Regions from separate parts of the Homo sapiens genome. Here all the other regions are linked to region 1. Evidence: promoter capture Hi-C in 16 types of primary human blood cells and fetal thymus (Javierre and others, 2016). All regions are on one chromosome and are shown on one strand. The core of a region is centred on a gene start or on the middle of the fragment in contact, and the rest is flanking DNA. Distances in the headings are between cores, read along the strand shown.

Evidence for each region. Contacts are between HindIII fragments. The CHiCAGO score rates a contact against its expected background, and 5 or more counts as called.
Region 2: a fragment that was not itself captured here is called in contact with the fragment with the promoter of DRAM1 in region 1 in 1 of 17 cell types (monocytes); the score reaches 5.7 in monocytes.
Region 3: a fragment that was not itself captured here is called in contact with the fragment with the promoter of DRAM1 in region 1 in 2 of 17 cell types (monocytes and total CD8 T cells); the score reaches 8.1 in monocytes.
Region 4: a contact is called between a fragment that was not itself captured here and the fragment with the promoter of DRAM1 in region 1, in 1 of 17 cell types (monocytes). The highest score is 5.5, in monocytes.

The regions. Positions count from the first base shown.
Region 1 is chr12:101,875,735-101,880,511 of GRCh38, forward strand. DRAM1 (DNA damage regulated autophagy modulator 1) reads left to right here and starts at 1,846. Exons shown (of 7, transcript NM_018370.3): 1 at 1,846-2,186. The coding sequence starts at 2,056. RefSeq lists enhancers at 1,250-2,032, 1,823-1,872, 2,033-2,814, 2,453-2,542, 2,683-2,732 and silencers at 1,483-1,642, 1,893-2,232. The HindIII fragment of the contact is 18,310 bases long and covers 1-4,777 here.
Region 2 is chr12:101,425,082-101,429,419 of GRCh38, forward strand. No RefSeq gene overlaps it. Among named protein-coding and RNA genes, the nearest start is that of ARL1, 19 kb to the left of the region's middle. The HindIII fragment of the contact is 557 bases long and covers 1,968-2,524 here.
Region 3 is chr12:101,393,497-101,397,991 of GRCh38, forward strand. ARL1 (ARF like GTPase 1) reads right to left here. Exons shown (of 6, transcript NM_001177.6): 5 at 2,903-3,081; 6 at 1-2,174. The coding sequence ends at 2,144. Among named protein-coding and RNA genes, the nearest start is that of ARL1, 12 kb to the right of the region's middle. The HindIII fragment of the contact is 904 bases long and covers 2,334-3,237 here.
Region 4 is chr12:101,614,326-101,618,704 of GRCh38, forward strand. MYBPC1 (myosin binding protein C1) reads left to right here. Exons shown (of 32, transcript NM_002465.4): 2 at 171-206; 3 at 2,877-2,918. LOC105369938 (a long non-coding RNA gene) reads right to left here and starts at 1,459. Exons shown (of 5, transcript XR_001749279.2): 1 at 1,378-1,459; 2 at 229-868. The HindIII fragment of the contact is 4,247 bases long and covers 844-4,379 here.

The DNA.
Region 1 (4,777 bases), core at 596-3,095:
GCATTTCCTCCAGTTGTTTTCTGGGCCTGGAATGCTAATCTTATTTTTCTTTGCCTGGTTAGTAATTACTTCCTTTTGAAAACTCTGATGTCATCTGTCAGAAAACCTCCGTGGTCCTTCCTCTGAGCCCAGGCCCCTGGCCCTCAGCTCTGGGCATGTCTCTACTTTTTAAAATCCTCTCCTTTCCATTTAATAAACCACATAACATAATTTTGTTTTTATTTATTTATATTTTTGAGACAGAGTCTCGTTCTCTCACCCAGGCTGAAATGCAGTGGTGTGATCTCAGCTCACTGAGAAAACCTCCATTTCCCAGGTTCAAGCGATTCTCCTGCCTCAGCCTCCTGAGTAGCTGGGATTACAGGCGTGAGCCATGATGCCTGACTAATTTTTTGTATTTTTAGTAGAGATGGGGTTTCACCATGTTGGCCAGGCTGGTCTCGAACTCCTGACCTCAGGTGATCCACCCACCTTGGCCTCCCAAAGTGCTAGGATTACAGGCATGAGCCACCACGCCTGGCCTAATTTTGTTATTTTGATCTATGAGTGTCCTCGTCCTGAGGGTACTATTACTATTTCATCTTTGTAGCCTAGCATGGCGCCCATGAAATGTGTTTGTGGCTGAAAGGAACCTATCTTTGGTCACCAATGACCCAACAATTTTGGCCACATATGTTGGGCTCAGACTCCCTAAACTATCAAAATCATGTGCTTATATTATAAGTGCCTCCAGAACACAAATCCCTTTCACAGGGCTTGAAATGTATCAAGTCACTATTAATCATCTTAGGCCAAGGCTCCGAGTCTGGGCTACTCCAGAACCTGGAGGGGAGTTTTTTTTGTTTTTTTTTTGTTTGTTTGTTTTTTGAGACAAGGTCTTGCTCTGTCACCCAGGCCGAGTGAAGTGGTGTGATAAAGGCTCACTGCAGCCTCGACCCCCAAGGCTCAAGTGATCATCCCAACTCAGTCTCCCGAGTAACTGGAACCGGCTTTTTTTCTTTTTCATTTTTTTTTTTTTTTTTTGTAGAAGAGGGGTTTCGCTATGTTACCCAGGCTGATCTCTAGTTCTTGGGTTCAAGCGATCCTCCCAACTCGGCCTCCCAAAGTGGTGGCATTCCAGGGGTGATGGCTTTTGGATGCCTCCCAAAGTGATGGCTATTCACGGCGCCCGGCCTGGGAAATCTTATTTCCAGGAAATATTCTCCAGTTGCGCTCTCCTGGAAAGCAGCACAATGGGCCTCCCGGCTCCGTGGGCGCGCAGTCCCACCCGCCTGCCCCGCACCCCACCCGCGTACTCTCCACCCCACCCGTTCCCACCCTGTCTGGGTTTTCGGGTGTTCACCATTGAGGTGGGAGCCACATCTGCGCCCCGTGACCTGGCGAACCTCATTGAACACTTCTGCCCGACCCCCGCAGCAGCAGCGCGACCGGATGGCATGGGTGTCACCACGCGGTGGCCACTCTCACTGCTGCGAAGCGCCGGCGGCGGGACCTCGGAGGGGGCGCCCTCGGGGTGCGAGGCCCGGCACTCCGGAAATCCCCCGGGAGGGAGGGGTTGGGAGAAATAAATCCTTTTCTCCAGAGTTGCGCAAGAGCCAGCGCGGTAGGGCCAGAGTGGGAAGGCCAGAGCGGGCGTCCCCGCCAGTGACCCCACGCCGCCCGTCCGCGCCCAACCCGGCCTCCGCCGAGTGTCCAAACCAAAAGCGAAAGGAACCCGACCCCGCGTCCCCTCCGGCGGCTCCGTAGTCGCGTCCGCTTGGAGCTCGCCGGGCGCCTCCGACCCTGCCGGGCCGCTTTGTGACTTCACTCGTTTCGCAACAAGCCCGGGCAGCCCGCGCCCCACCCACTCTGGCCCGGCAGCCTCGCCGCCCGCAGCCTCGCTCCGCTCCTCGCGCTTCCCCTCCCTCCGGGGCTGGGCCTGCCCCGGCCGTCGCGGAGCCTCCCCTCCCACCGTCCGTGAGTGTACGCGCCCGGCCGCCGCCTCCAGGCAGCCCGGAGCAACCCGGCGCCCGGCCCCGCTGGGCGCAGCACTCCGTCGGCGGCGGCGGCGGCGCGATGCTGTGCTTCCTGAGGGGAATGGCTTTCGTCCCCTTCCTCTTGGTGACCTGGTCGTCAGCCGCCTTCATTATCTCCTACGTGGTCGCCGTGCTCTCCGGGCACGTCAACCCCTTCCTCCCGTATATCAGGTGAGTGGCAGGGTGGGCGTCAGGGCCCCAGGAGCAGGCACAGGGACCACAGGGAGCGCTGCCGACGGGGAGGGAAGGCGTCCGGACCCAGCTTGGGGCGTCGTGTGGTCAGGCAGAGGTGGGAGCAGGAGGAGAGGTGCTCCCGATAGCCTGGGATGTTTAGGGAGGCAGCGGGTGCGGCGCTGAGCACTTCTGCCTGTACCCGGAGCATGGAACAGGGTGGCAGCAAGGAGAGGTTCAGGATAGATGGTAGAGCTTTCATTCTGGGTATGGGACAGAATCTCAGCAGGACGTTCTTAGGCGATATTGAAACAAGATGGGTTCTGATAGATGACATATATTATACAAGAGGTAGATCCAGGTATATGCTAAACAGCCACTATTTTCACTTCTGCATCCCAACATCCCTTGAAGTGGATGTTTGGGCTTATTATTCCCGCAAGCGAGCGGTGGTGTAAAGTTGATGAAATATCATCAACGTGACACTGATGTCACACTAGTTAATGGTAGGAGCAGAATTCACACCCGGCCATGCAGAAAGCAACACTGTGCTGCCCCCAGGTCTCTGGGAGTCTGGCTTAAATTCTCTGGAGCTGCACCAGACACCTCTGGGCACTGTGACCCCAAAGTCCTCAACTTGTCAACAACTTGTGACATCTTTTGTGTTATTTTACCCATTCACTTTTCCTGTGCTTTGGCCTCTACCTTCCTGAGGGGCACTTCAGTGCCAGGGACAGTGGTCTGATCCTCCTATGTGGGTTCCAGCTCAGTGCCTTTCTCATAGTGGCAGGATTCTTTAAACGTTAGAACCATCCATCCTTATCTAAGTAGTGTGACCCCTCTGGACAGGCATTGGTTGGTGAACGGATGATAAGGTTGGTGACACCCAAGGTTTGTTACTGCTATGATAGAAAATGTAGGGCGTCTTCTTCCCTGCAGCCATTCTGTCTGGTGAGCAATGTTCTGTGTTTTTTTGTTTGTTTGTTTGTTTTTTTCCTTTTTTTGGGGGTGGGGGTGAGGAGTGTGGAGAAAGGGGAAACAAAGATCGAGCAAGAGGGGACTAGCATTTTTTAAAATTTTTTTTATTTTTTTGAGACAGAGTCTTGTTCTGTCGCCCAGGCTGGAGTGCAGTGACACAATCTCGGCTCACCGCAACCTCTGCCTCCCGGGTTCAAGCGATTCTCCTGCCTCAGCCTCCCAAGTAGCTGAGATTACAGGCGTGCACCACCACACCTGGCTTAATTTTTTTGTATTTTTAGTAGAGACAGGGTTTCACTATGTTGGTCAGGCTGGTCTCAAATTCCTGACCTCAAGTGATCCTCTTGCCTTGGCCTCCCAAAATGCTAGGATTACAGGTGTGAGCCAGTGTTCCCAGGGAACCAGCATTTACAAGATGCAGGGAATACAGCAATAGGTAGAATAGTGCAAATTTGCAGTAATGATGGTGGTTTTTGCCTATGAAAGGAGATGTTATGTATATCAAGATGTTCTCATCTGGCCTTTCGGTTTTTTCCATTTATTGTTATTATTTTTTATTTTCAGTAGAGACAAAGTCTCACTATATTGCCCAGGCTGGTCTTAAACTCCTGGGCTCAAGCATTCCCCTTGCTTTGGCCTCCCAGAGTGTTGGGATTACAGGCGTGAGCCACCACGCCTGGCCCTCCCATCTGGTATTATGCTTGGAAGAAACCTAGGCTTGGTTTCTCATGGCACATCTCAGGCCCAAGTGCCATCATCTTGCTTCTGAAGCAGGATAGATCCTTCTAGACTTGTGTAAAAGTAAAGACCTGCTCAGCTGGGCACAGTGGCTCACGCCTGTAATCCCAGCACTTTGGGAGGCCGAGGCTGGCGGATCATGAGGTCAAGAGATCGAGACCATCCTGGCCAACATGGTAAAACCTCATCTCTACTAAAAATACAGAAATTAGCTGGGCGTGGTGGTGCACGCCTGTAGTCCCAGCTACTCGGGAGGCTGAGGCAGAATTGCTTGAACCCGGGAGGCAGAGGTTGCAGTGAGCCGAGACAGAGCTACTGCACTCCAGCCTGGTGACAGAGCGAGACTCCATCTCAGAAAAAAAAAAAAAAGGTAAAGAGCTGCTCTACCTGCAGTGCTGCTTCTTTTGTTTGTTTGTTTGTTTGTTTTTTCAGACAAAGTCTCGCTCTGTTGCCCAGTCTGTGGTGTGGTGGTGGGATCACAGCTCACTGCAGCCTCGACCTCCTGGGCTCCATTGATCCTCCCACCTCAGCCTCCTGAATAGCTGGGGACTGTAGATAGGCATGCACAACCATGCCCAGCTAATTTTTAATTTTTTTTTGTATTTGTAGAGATGGCATCTTGCTGTGTCCTGCAATGCTTCCTTTTTTTTTTTTTTTTTTTTTTTTTTTAAGACAGAGTCTTGCTCTGTCGCCCAGGCTGGAGTGCAATGGTGCAATCTCGGCTCAGTGCAACCTCCACCTCCTGGTTCAAGCAATTCTCCTGACTCAGCCTCCCAAGTAGCTGGGATTACAGGCACCTGCCACCACGCCCAGCTAATATTTTTGTATTTTTAGTAGAGACGGGGTTTCACCATGTTGGCCAGGCTGGTCTCAAG
Region 2 (4,338 bases), core at 996-3,495, 450 kb before region 1:
GACAGCTGTTGTTTCTGAAGTTGAAGTTAGCTAAAATATTTTAAAAAGTGAACACTTGCATGATAAAACATATTACAATAGGACTTGGAAAATGGAGTTAAAAAAAAACTTGGTTACTGGCATTTTTGCTGTTAATGTTGCACTGGCAGGAAAAAGAAATTAGGTGACTTTTGTGATGTAGGGGCCAAAGGAAAGGTTCCTTTTGGCCTTCTGAAGGGTATTGAAAAACCAATCCACAAAAAGGCAGATTAATTGAAGAAAATGCATACAACAACTGGGGACAGTTGGTGCACATCTGTAATCCCAGCAACTCAGAAGGCTCAGGCAGGAGGATTGTTTGAGGCCTGGAGTTGGAGACCAGCCTGGGAAACATAGCAAGACCCAGTCTCTAAAGAATAAAATAAAATAAATGAAAAACAAAAACAGAAAAGACATACGGATTTATTTAACATGTATACACAGAAGCCTTTAGAATGAAGATCCAAAAATACAGGGAAAATTGTCCTTTAATGTTTAGGTTTACAAACTAGAACAGTGGTGTAGAAATGTGATTGGACAAAAAGGTTATGACCTAATGCTAATAGCCTGAGTAGGACACCCAGAAATGCCTGTGTGTCTAGATTCTTTTCAGCCTCTCTGGGTATTTTTTTTTTCTGGTTATGGGGCAGGACCCTCTCTGGAATGGAGGGTCTTAGGATCAATAGTCAAAGAAGATAGCTCAGATAAATTTTTTTGGCCAATTTTTACACAGAAAGATAGAAGGAAAATAAAAGTAATCTTTTTAGGTTTTATGGCTGGCTTTGGGGAAAAAGGGTTCTGATTTCTATGATCTGCCTTGGGAAGAGGGATTCTGGTTTCTATGGCTAGTTTTTGGGGAGAATGAGACTGAAAGAACATCAGGAGAAAGACAAAAAGTTTTGCTTCTGAGGCCTTCATTTTGGGGGTATTGTGTTTTTTTTAAGAGACAGGGTTTCACTCTGTCACCCAGGCTGGAGTGCAGTGGCATGATCTCGGCTCACTGCAGCCTCAGCCTCCCAGGTTCAAACGAACCTCCCACCTCAGCCTCCCAAGTAGCTGAAACTACTACACCACCACATCCAGCTAATTTCTAAATTTTTTTTGTAGAGACGGGGTCTCACTATGTTGCCAGGCTGGTCTCAAACTCCTGGCCTCAAGTGATCCTCCTGCCTCAGCCTTCAAGTAGCTAGGATTACAGGCACATGCCACCATGCCTGGCTATTTTGTTTTTGTTTTTGTAGAGACAGAGTCTTGCTGTGTTACCCAGGCTGATCTTGAACTCCTGGCCTCAAGCAATCGCCCGCCTCAGCCTCCTAAAGTGCTGGATTACAAGCATAAGCGACTATACTCAGCCAGATATTGTTTTCTGAGTCCCAAAAGTGACATAACGATTGTTATAATTAAACATAACTGTGTTAGTTGTAGCTGAGAAAGCAAAGGCTTTGGAACTTTATTTAAAGGCAAACAAAGCCAGGCGTGGTGGTGCATGCCTGTAGTCCCAGCACTTTGGGACGATGAGGCAGGAAGATTACTTGAGCTGGGGAGATTGAGGCTGCACCAGTGAGTGACACCATGTCTCTAAATAAATAAATAAAAGCAAATGAAATATATCTAACCAATCAACAACTTGAAACTGCCCAATCAGTCCTATTGACTTACCAGTGATTAAAATGAACTGTTGGCCTTTTTTTCTTTCTTTCTTTTTTTTTTTTTTTAAGAGACAGGGTCTCCTTCTGTCACCCATGCTGGGATGTATGGCACTATCATAGCTCACTGCAGCTTTGAACTCCAAGGCTCAAGCAATCCTCTTGCCTCAGCCTCCCAAAGAAAATGGATTCTTATGAACAAAAACATCTGATGAACCCTTTCTCCAGTCCTGATTTTCTCTCAAGCTTCTGTTCTGAATCTCCAACTACTTACTAGAGAGTTCTTTATGGGATATTCACTCAAGCTTCATATGTCTAAAACCAAACATACCTTTTTGCTAACTAAAAAGTAAAACAAACACAACTCTAAAAATCTGATTTACTCTCCCAACTTTCTTATTTCTCTGCTCAATGAGCCAAATTCTACCTCTCCTTGCCACCTATGGGTTAATGCAGAGGGCCTTTCTCTGGCCTCACAGTGACCAAATCTTGTTCATTCATCCTTTATCTCCTACTCTCGGACAGTAGCCTATTTTTCCTCACCCTCAAATACCTTTGAATACCACCACTTTGCATCTAATAAAGTCTGTCCTGTACTAGGTACTCAATACATGTTCACAGAATATATCATGTTAATTTCTCTATTAGAAACCTTTAAAACTCATTGCCAAGGATGTTCGTAATTGTTGGTTACTATCTTAATCAGTTTTCTGCTGCTATAATGGAATACCACAGGCTGGGTAATTTATAAAGAAAACAAATTAATTTCTCACAGTTCTGGAGACTGGAAAGTCCAAGAGCTTGGCATTGCCTCTGGCGAGGCCTTTGTGCTGCATCATAACATGGCAGAAGGTTAAGCAAGCTTATGAGAACAAGAGGAGAAATAGAACTGAATTCATCCTTTATCAGGAGCCCACTCCTGAGATAATAGCATTAATCCATTTATGATGGCAGAGCTCTCGTGACTGAATTACCTCTTAAAGAAAGCACCTCTTACGCCTGTAATCCCAGCACTTTGGGAGGCCGAGGCAGGCGGATCACGAGGTCAGGAGATTGAGACCATCCTGGCTAATGCAGTGAAACCCCGTCTCTACTAAAAATACAAAAAAATTAGCCAGGCGTGGTGGCGGGTGCCTGTAGTCCCAGCTACTTGGGAGGCTGAGGCAGGAGAATGGTGTGAACCTGGGAGGCGGAGCTTGCAGTGAGCCGAGATCACACCACTGCACTCCAGCCTGGGTGACAGAGCAAGACTCCATCTCAAAAAAAAAAAAAAAGAGAAAGCACCTCTTTTTTGTTTTGTTTTGTTTTGAGGCAAGGTCTTGCTATGTTGCCAAGGATGGTCTCAAACTCCCGGCCTCAAGTGATCCTCCTGCCTCAGCCTTCCAAAGTGCTGGGATTACAGGCATGAGCCTCTGTGCCCAGCTAACAGCACCTCTTAATACTGTTATAATGGCAATGACACTTTTTTTTTGAGTTGGAGTTTCACTCTGTCACCCAGGCTGGAGTGCAATGGTGTGATCTCAGCTCACTGCAACCTCCTCCTCCCAGATTCAAGCAATTCTCCTGACTCAGCCTCCCAAGTAGCTGGGATTACAGGCGCCCATCACCACACCCAGCTAATTTTTGTATTTTTAGTAGAGACAGGGTTTCACCATATTGGCCAGGCTGGTTTCGAAATCCTGACCCCGTGATCCGCCCACCTCGGCCTCCCAAAGTGTTGGGATTACAGGCGTGAGCCACCGCGCCCGACTGGCAATTACATTTGAACATGAGTTTTGGCAGGAACATTTAAATAATAGCAGTTACTTACTTTTTTAGAAGGCTAACTTTTTAAGGGCAGCGTCTTTCTTATTCTTCTCTGTATCTCCAGTGCTACCACACTGGAGTTCAATAAATGTTTGTTGAATTCATGAAGGATGAGGCTTGAATTTCTTAACTTAGCATTCAGATACTTCCATAATCAGATCCAACTGACTACCTCTCTCCAGTTCAGTCAAACATTGTGGAATCGGGGGGAAACTCACTGTTTCCAGGACTCTGTAGATTTTGCTTCTATAGTGAGGTTTGCCATTACCATTGGGAAAGCCATCCAGCCACTCTGTGGTTCAGATTCCTCTGCAAAATGAAGGATTGGTCAAGAGTGAAACTCCTCAGACTTTAATGTCTACATACAAAGCACCTGGCCGGGCGAGGTGGCTCAAGCCTGTAATCCCAGCACTTTGGGAGGCTGAGGCAGGTAGATCACGAGGTCAGGAGAACGAGACCATCCTGGCTAACAGAGTGAAACCCCGTCTCTACTAAAAATACAAAAATTAGCTGGGCGTGGTGGCGGGCGCCTGTAGTCCCAACTACTCGGGAGGCTGAGGCAGGAGAATGGCGTGAACCTGGAGGTGGAGCTTGCAGTGAGCCGAGATGGTGCCACTGCACTCCAGCCTGGGTGACAGAGCGAGACTGCATCTCTAAAAAAACAAAACAAAAAAACAAACAAAAAAAGCACCAAAGACCTTGAACATGCACAATCAGACTGTGATTCTGCATTTCTACAAGCTCCCAGGGGATGCTAATGCATGAATATTTGTACCTTTTTCTACCTTTCAAAGATCATGTTGAAATTTAATCCCCAGTGTGGCAGTATTGAGAAGTGGGGCCTTTAAGAGGTGACTGGGCCATGAGG
Region 3 (4,495 bases), core at 1,536-4,035, 480 kb before region 1:
ATAAAACAATATTCAGATTTGCCATGTATATATCAATATCCAAACGCTGGTAGTATACCTGTGCAGTTGTCTCCTGCTAGACAAGGACCATATAATTTATAGCTTATTTAAGTGTCCACTTTCTTTATCCCATCCTATTCTTTGTGATAAACCAGAGGGATCAGGCTTAACCAAGTGCTGAACTTTGGGGCAACTTCATGCCCTAGGATTCAAGATGGCCAGCGGCTACATGCCGGGTCTGCCTGCCAGGACCTTACTTCCCATTTTTTGCAGTTTTCCTGGACTGCCGGGAGGCAGCTGTACAAGCTTTATAAGCCTCAGGCTGTAAGTGAACTTGCTTTCTGCATTTTCCAGCCATGTGCCATTGACCAGGAGTGAACTCAAGTATAAATTGCAAAGGGCTACTTGTCAAGATGACAAATATCTATCCTACTGTTTCAACTATGAACATATTCTGAAATGCCATATGCCAGGCGCCATACCAGATACTAGGGACATAAATATGAAAAAGTCTTTGCCCCTCAGGAGTAATATTGGTTGTACTGGAACATTTGTAGCTGAAGGAAAATCTCCAAAAAAGATTTCAAAGAGACTAAAGTAGGAATGGGTGCTGGAGAATGAGCAAGAAGGGTGAGAGTCCCACGGGTGAAGGGAGAAAGCAGCAGAGAATGAATATAAGCCCGGAGAATGAACATAAATGTGAGGGGAAGAGGCCAGAGGCCAACACTGGAAGGACAGTGAGGGCCAAGAAAGGAACTACTAATGTTTCTGAGACCTGCAGGGAACCATGGTATTAAGCTCTCATTACCAGCACCTAATTTTTTAGAGGCTGGTTTTCCAACTTAAGTGAAAGAAATTCACCCTGTTTTTAGCAATTATGACGCACTATATTTACTTCTGTCACATTAGCTGATTCTGTGGTGGACTGGGTAATTTGAAAAGCTCCTTTGAACATGAATTGTTTTTAAACTTACAGTCTAGCAATAAGCCTAATTTTTAAAACAGAATGCTTAATTTCTCCCTGTACAATCAGTAAGATTTTGATTTTTAACAAGTTTACATGTCCAATTACATGTAGATAAAAGGAATGAAAACCAGTAAAGACACCTTTTATAATCTGAAAATAGATTTTTAAACCTTCCTTTAATGTGAAATTTTCTCTTTAATGTGTTATGAATTCTATCAAATATAACCATTTAGGATTATTTATAGTATGTCACTGATCACTTCTACTAGTATAGACAAATAAATTTATAAACATTATTTTGAATGTAACTAATTAGCATAATTTTATTTAAGAGTTAGACTGTGTTGTCAATACTGACATTTTTGGGAATATATAGTATAGTTTATGAGTCAAGCTTCTGAACCAAAAGTTTTACTTTGAGCCCTATTCCTACCTTACAAGCTAGCAGGTGACCTTGGGCAAGCCAACCTATTAGAACCCTGGGTTCACGTCCATACAGTGAAGACATCATAACCTGTCCTACCTACTTCACAAGCTTCCTCTACCGATCAACTAGATCAATATATGTAAGATTTTTTTTGACAACTGTAAAGTACTATAAAATGACACTTACAGATAAGTCAGTGAAGTTAACCATCAAAACAATATTCATGCCTATAACCAAAAGCTTTTAAACAAAACAGCTTAATAAAAAGTGGTCAGGTAAGCAAATAAAGATTATATTACACAAACTATGTTCCTCACCTACTCTCATACTGAGTCTAATCTTTGGAAAGATAATTCATTTTAAGGGGAAAAAAATCTGTTAAGATATTTTTTAGTATTTATACAAACAAGCTGCAACTACTATTCAAAAATAGGTTTTTTTCATCCAATAGGAGTATACTCTTTAATAGAACTGTATTTGAATAAGAATTCCATACAAATAGAATATATACCTTAACACAAGAAAGCAAGAAAAGAATATTTTACATTACATAGAACATTCAGGTGATTCGATCAAATTATCCCTCCAACTAAATACTTATTTTCCCTATTTACTACAAATATTGCAGTCAGTCAGTATATGCCAATAATCATATAGTTTTAACATCTAGTAGTGTGAAGTACACTTGACTGTTTCCAAAGGGAGAGAGGTGATGTAGTCTTCATTTCAGGGGAGAAGAATGGACTGAATTACTGTCTGCTTTTTAATGTTTCAACTAACCTGTAAAGAGAAAATGAACTGTTTTATAAAATTAATTTTCAGGTATAAAGCATGATCATCTATAATAAACTTTGTATTGGAGGTGGATTCCAAAGTACTTAAAATGATGACAGCTAACACAGATGAGGTTATGCACTAGATATCCATAAGGTTCCTCTAAGCTTTGAATTTGTCTATGATTTGAATGAAAAATTCAAAAAAGACCAAATACCTATTTTCCAGGCTACTACTACTTCTGGGCTACATATGGATGACTCAGAGGTGAAACTAGTCTCAATCCTCAAGGAGGTGATTATCTAATGAGTAGATGAACAAATCAAACTTACAAGACAGCAAAACAAGTACTATGTCACTAATCTGTGACAAGGGCATCTAACTTTAAGTGAGTGATTAGGCAGTAGGAATAGAGATACATTAGGAAAAGCTCTTCAGAAGAGAGTCTTAAGCTAATTCCTGAAGGATAAGGAATTGGAGGGTGAGGTGAGGCAGGGAAAAGGCTAAAAATTGGCAAAGAATTTGCTTATCTAAGTAACTGTAATCAGGTAGGTGTGGTTGAGAAGACAGATGCACCTGAAGACCAGTGAGAGAAAACGCTTGAGGAACTTATGAAATAAGCTGCTAAGTAAATCAAAGTTTCATCCTCAACACGGGAGAAAAATTACACGTGGACGTGCATAGCTGCAAGCACACACAAATGCACAGATGGCTTCTGGAAGCATGATACTTGCCATTCCATTGCCTCATCAAGGCCGGTGCCTTTGGTTGCTGACGTTTTGAATATCTGCCATTTTCGGTCCTTCAAGGCAGGTAACCCAAGTGAATTTGCCATCTCTGAGGAAGTCATGGCCTGTTCCATGTCCTGTTTATTTGCAAACACCACTAAAATGGCTTTTCTCAGCTCTTCTTCCTAAATGAAATTGAAAATATTTAATTTCTTTTAACTAATGTGCTCTCTCGAGTTTAGAAAATGTCCAAAAATACATTTTAAACGTGTATTTTATAATTAATATATTACACATTATGAAATTATATAGAAATTATATAGAGAAGTATAAAGAAAAGAAGCTTCACTCATAATCCTACCTCCCAAATATGATCACTGTTAACATTTTAGGTGTTTTCTACTAGTACTTTGTTTTGCAGATACTTCAGAGTTTATTTAGTAAATACATTTACACATTTAAGATCACATTTATATATAGTTCCATACCCTGCCTAAAAATTAAAATCATGTTTCTCCAAACTACAACAACTTTTTCAAAATAAAAAAATGGCTAAATATGCTCTACACTATGGATGCATGCACCATAAACTGTGTTAACTATTTTCTAGTATCTGACTCTTATTAGAGTCTTTCCACTAGACTATTAGATAAACCCAAGTGACAGGGTCTTTATACAAAAATTTCTGTTTAAATCTGTTTCCTTAACACAATATTCTAAAAATGGAGTCAAAGTATGAACAGTTTTTTTCAGGCTTTGATAAACTGAATACATGCATGAACAGCTTTCCAGAAAGGTTACCCTACCAACAGTGTATAAAAGTCTCCATCTTCAATGCAGCCTTTGTAGAGTTGGGAATTATTTACTTTTCCAAACATAGCATCTCATTATATATTACTAGGGTATTCGAAATGCACATGGGCTGAGGCAGGAGGATCGCTTAAGTCCAGGAGTTGGAGACCAGCCTGAGCAACACAGGGGTCTCTACAAAAATTTTTTTAAAAAACAAACAAAAAAGGAAGCAGAGAGAGGAGCTCAAGGTTATAACAAGCTTTGGTTGTGCCACTGCACTCCAGCCTAGGGGACAGAGGGAGACCCTGTCTCTTTTTTTTTTTTCTTTTTTTAAGACAGTGTCTCGCTCTGTTGCTCAGGCTGAAGTTGCAGTCGTGCAATCTTGGCTCACTGCAGCCTCTGCATCCTGGGTTCAAGTGATTCTCCTGCCTCAGCCTCCTGAGTAGCTGGGACTACAGGTGCCCGCTGCCACGCCCAGCTAATTTTTGTATTTTTAGTAGAGATGAGGTTTCACCATGTTGGTCACTCAGACTGGTCTCGAACTCCTGACCTCATGATCCACCCGCCTCGGCCTCCCAAAGTGCTGGGATTACAGGCATAAGCCACCGCGCCCTGCTGACCCTGTCTCTTTAAAAACAAATGCAAATGTTATTAGCAATGTTTTTCCCCTACGAATTGCCTTTTGCTCATTTTGCAAAAGATCTTGCTATGATTCAGATCACTAATCCTTAGTCATTGGCTTCTGGTTAGGCCTGGTTTCTTATCTTAATCTTGTTTATATTTGCCATATCTGAGCTTTGGGGGAGT
Region 4 (4,379 bases), core at 1,717-4,216, 260 kb before region 1:
GAGAGAGAGAGAGAGAGAGAGAAGAGAGAATGTGTTTCCCTCCTCCATCCCTCTTGTGAGTACACACAGGTGAGATGGCTGCCTGCAGCAGAAGCTGCCTGGGGCTGTAGAAAGCAGTTCTTCTCTGTGATAAATGAGCCTGACATTTCCATGACTCTTTCCATTTCTAGAAAATGAAGTGCCAGCCCCAGCCCCACCCCCGGAAGGTGAGTAAAAACACTCACTCACACACGTTTGGGCTGCAAATACAGAGGGTCCATCCCAGCATGATTTGGCCTCCACGGGTGCTGTGAGCTGTGAGCTTTAACCTAACTCCTACTGAGAAGTTGGATGGTGACCATTGTGATAAGTTGAGAATAATAAAAATAATACACTGTGTTTATATAATCCTCTTGTGTTAATCTAATTTGGATGGCACTTCATATATATTAGGGGGACAATTCTTATGAAACCTTTCAAATTATGTAAAAGTTATTATGTCCGCATTTTACAGTGTGGAGGCTGAGCCTCCATCCAAGGGGCTGAAGAATTTGTGAGGCTTTTTCCTATATAGTGAAGGTCAAACAAACCCACATCTTCTTTATGAGAGTGGGGAGTGGATCCATCTCTACCCTGGAAGATCAGCTGTCCCTTCTCAACTTGACATATGTCACTATTGAGCACCTCCAGAAACTCCCTAGCAGCTATCCAGAAAGGTTTGGTGACCTCTGAGGTTCAACGTGAGGACCAACTTCTTGAGTTCTTAGCACCATATTGTCCACCAGCTGGCAACAGGAAATGAGTACAGAGATCCAGTGAGACCCTTGGCAGGTAGGGCAGTCCCCTATGACACACAATATATGAAGCTTGTTTTTATGTCCACATACACCTAAAGAAGAAAAGAAAATTAAAAGATTAAAAGATTGAAAGCTCAATGTGGCTTAAACTCCCAACATGGCTCTTCAGAGTCATTTATCAGCCAAATAGCCCCAAGATGGAAGCAACCAAAATCATGTGCATTTTCCCATAAAGACTCCAAAGTGGCCTTCCTCATCCCTCTTCCTCCTTGAAAAGGATGAGAAACTGGCATCCCACTCAATAATTATTCACTAGGTATTTACCCTGTGCACAACTCTGACCTAACCCTTCAGAGGGATTCAGACATACCTATCATGTACGTATTGATAGCTAGGTGCAAGCATATTGTACCAGATGTAGTGGGGAACTCTACATAGAAAACATCTCCCTGTATTCAGTTTGTTTGCAGCCAAGTAGAAAATAGAATACAGCCTGGGAAACAATTAAATAAAATGCAGCCAAAACATTAAAACATTAGGCAATATTATAAGAACCCCCCGCCCCCCCCCCGCCCCCCCACACCAAGCAGTATGTGATTACTTGTGAGTTGCTTAAACTGGCAATGTGTTATGAAGCCAGCAGGTGACTGTAGACCTGGTCCAGCTTAGGTGAAAGCAGGAGTTTGGAGAAGGTCTCAGTTTCTAATCATCTTTTCACACAAAAACTTATGAGGCAATTATAAAGCTCTTCCTCTTCCTCCCTGGAGATCGTTTTTCTTTTTTCTTTGTTTTCTTTTTTCTTTTCTTTCTCTTTCTTGAGACAGGGTCTTGCTCTGTTATCCAAGCTGGAGCGCAGTGGCACCATCACAGCTCACCGCAGCCTCAAACTCTTGGGCGCAAGCAGAGATTGTTTTTCAGGAGGGCAGTTTGAGAAATCTAGCTGCTCACAAGAGGCCCTTTGTCCAGCTAAGAATACTAGATTCACACACTCAAACCCTAAACAGTATAGAGAAGTATTACTATGTGTCGAAATGAACGAAAACTGGCTCAGTGCCATATGAGTTCAAACGGGAAAGCTCAGATTTATTTTCTTTAGATCTTGATCTTGAAACTAGTGTAGATGTGTGACATTCTTCTTAGGATCTTCCTGTTCCTTGGTATGTTTTCTCCTTGCCCATAACAAATGTACTTTGACCAACATTGAGTACACTGAGAACCTACTGGCCATTATAAACAAACCTTTCCCTTCTGTTTTTCAGATCAGTTACTGCCACTGAGCCACTATCGTTTCCTTTGTATGTCATATTTCATATTCATTGCACAATATTGACTTCCTGTTGCTCAAATGTCTCCTCCCAAATTCTGCTAAAATTGTCCTTCTTAGTTAACTGAGATTTGAATCTCCATTCATCAGTCCGAAAAAAGAGAATGCATTCTTGAAACAATTCTTTTCTTACTGATTCCATAAGTCAGATACCATTTGCAGGTCTAAACTAATATGATCCCAAACACAGAGAAATGCAAACTAGATGGTCTCAACTGGTAGAATCTGATGTTACTGCTCTTGTTTTGCATTTATTGCCACTAAACCCAATCCAGAAGATTCACATGGACACTGAAACATTTTCTTTGAAGCAACATACACTGCACACAATTACATATTTTGTACTTTACTAGAAAATCTAGAAGTCCAAACTCTTGGAATCATTACATGGGGCAAACTGACTTTTCTTTAAAAAGTCAGTCCCTTGCTGAGGTCTAAAATAAAGTGGCTCACATTTGTTTTGCCTAATTCTACTCCAGCATGTTATATAACATGATCCAAGTATAGTTGAGTGCATTTTAACAAAATCTGTATTGAGTGTTCTTATGTGTACTTTTCCAAAAATGATCAGATTAATTGCTTTTCACTAAAAGTTTAGTGTGGCTCTAAGTTATAATTTCTAAATTCATAATTCATGTACAGCACGAGTATTCAGTATCATTTATGACCTGTTCTGCTGTCATTTATTTCTTCCCTCCCCCTCTCCACCCCGTTGCTCATCACACAATAAAATGCTTTAAGGCACTTTAAAAAATATGCTTGTACTTTCTACACAGAACCAAGTAAAGAGAAGGAGGCCGGAACTACACCAGCAAAAGGTGAGTTGGAGGGAGGGAGAGTGAGGCTGAAGTCAACAAAATTAGAAGCAGAAAGAAGTCAGTAATGATTGTCATGGTGGCTCCATAGAATTTCTCTGCATTATCTTTCGTTCTGCCTTTGCATCTTATCTGCAAGTCCCAATCAGTATAATGACAAATGGTGCATTGCTAAGTTTCCATTACATGTATTTCTAAAAGAAAAACAACAATGATAAAAATATCACAAGCACTTGTTGAGATGCCAGCAAATTAATTGGTAGTTTCCAAGTTTCGACATGCATGCTAAGAAAGAGAGGTGTTTGGTCTTCTTAGGATTATATCAATTGGGAAAATTATCTGAATTACCCGGTTTTTTTTTAAATTAAATGTTTTCATGTTATTGTGTGAACTGTTCCAGGGTTCACTAATAATTTTGAAGGCTAGCATCTCACTTTGTAACACTGACTATGTATTCATGTAGATTTATATAATGATTTCTACAGATACACAATATAACATTAAGAAGACATGTTGCCCCTTCTTGAACTGGAAACTATTCCTGTAATATTATCCTATTTTTACTTTATATGGAGATAGTCTCATTTTAGAAAATAATCTTAATCATATACTTCTGTTACTCCATGAAATGCTAATTCCTTTGTCTCACCATGGAAGAAATGATTATCATTACTGACCATCTGTCTTAAGCTAAGGAGCATTAGTCTTTCATAGAGGGAAGTTTCATGAAGGTGGATTAGACAGCTTTGCTGTATATGTTTGTATTGTCATTTTAAAAGTGAACCTTTTATTTGCATAATGAATAAAAAAGTTTAAATTTTGGAATAACTATTTCCTGACTGCAACAAGAAGTTTCTCTTTTTCCTGGACACTGCTCAAAACCATGTTAAGTATCTCTTTGTTCTTGATGTGTCATATTTCATTATCTAATTTCTATGATATTCTTGTGTCCTATACATTAGTAAAATACTTTTTTCTTTCTTTCAGTAGATTGGATTACTTTCCTTCAGCTAACTTGAACTTATGCTCTCATAATGAACGCATAACGTTAGTATACTCACTTTGTCCTTGACCTTCAGTGGCTCCCATGGAGAGTAACATGAATACTAATCCTGGCCACGTGGGCGCAGTTTGAAGGTTATTTGCTTATGGAATGCAGACAGTGCAAACTCCTAGAACTCCTTCCATGGGATGGTTTCAAGGAGGTTTGGGCATCCTGGCTGAAATTATTGTAATATTATTCTCTACAAGGCCAATGGGCATACACCTCTGTTTCCAAATTTGGAAAGGTGTTTGGGCCAGGCTGCAAGGCTCAACCAACAGAGCAGATGATGTAATCCCAGAGGGCAAGCTGTCAAAGTTTAAACAAAGCCTGTGCCTGACCCTTAATTTGAAAAGTCACCATATTATACTTGTATGCTTAAATGAGAAAATGTCTTTCCTTAAAGTCAACCAACCAACAAA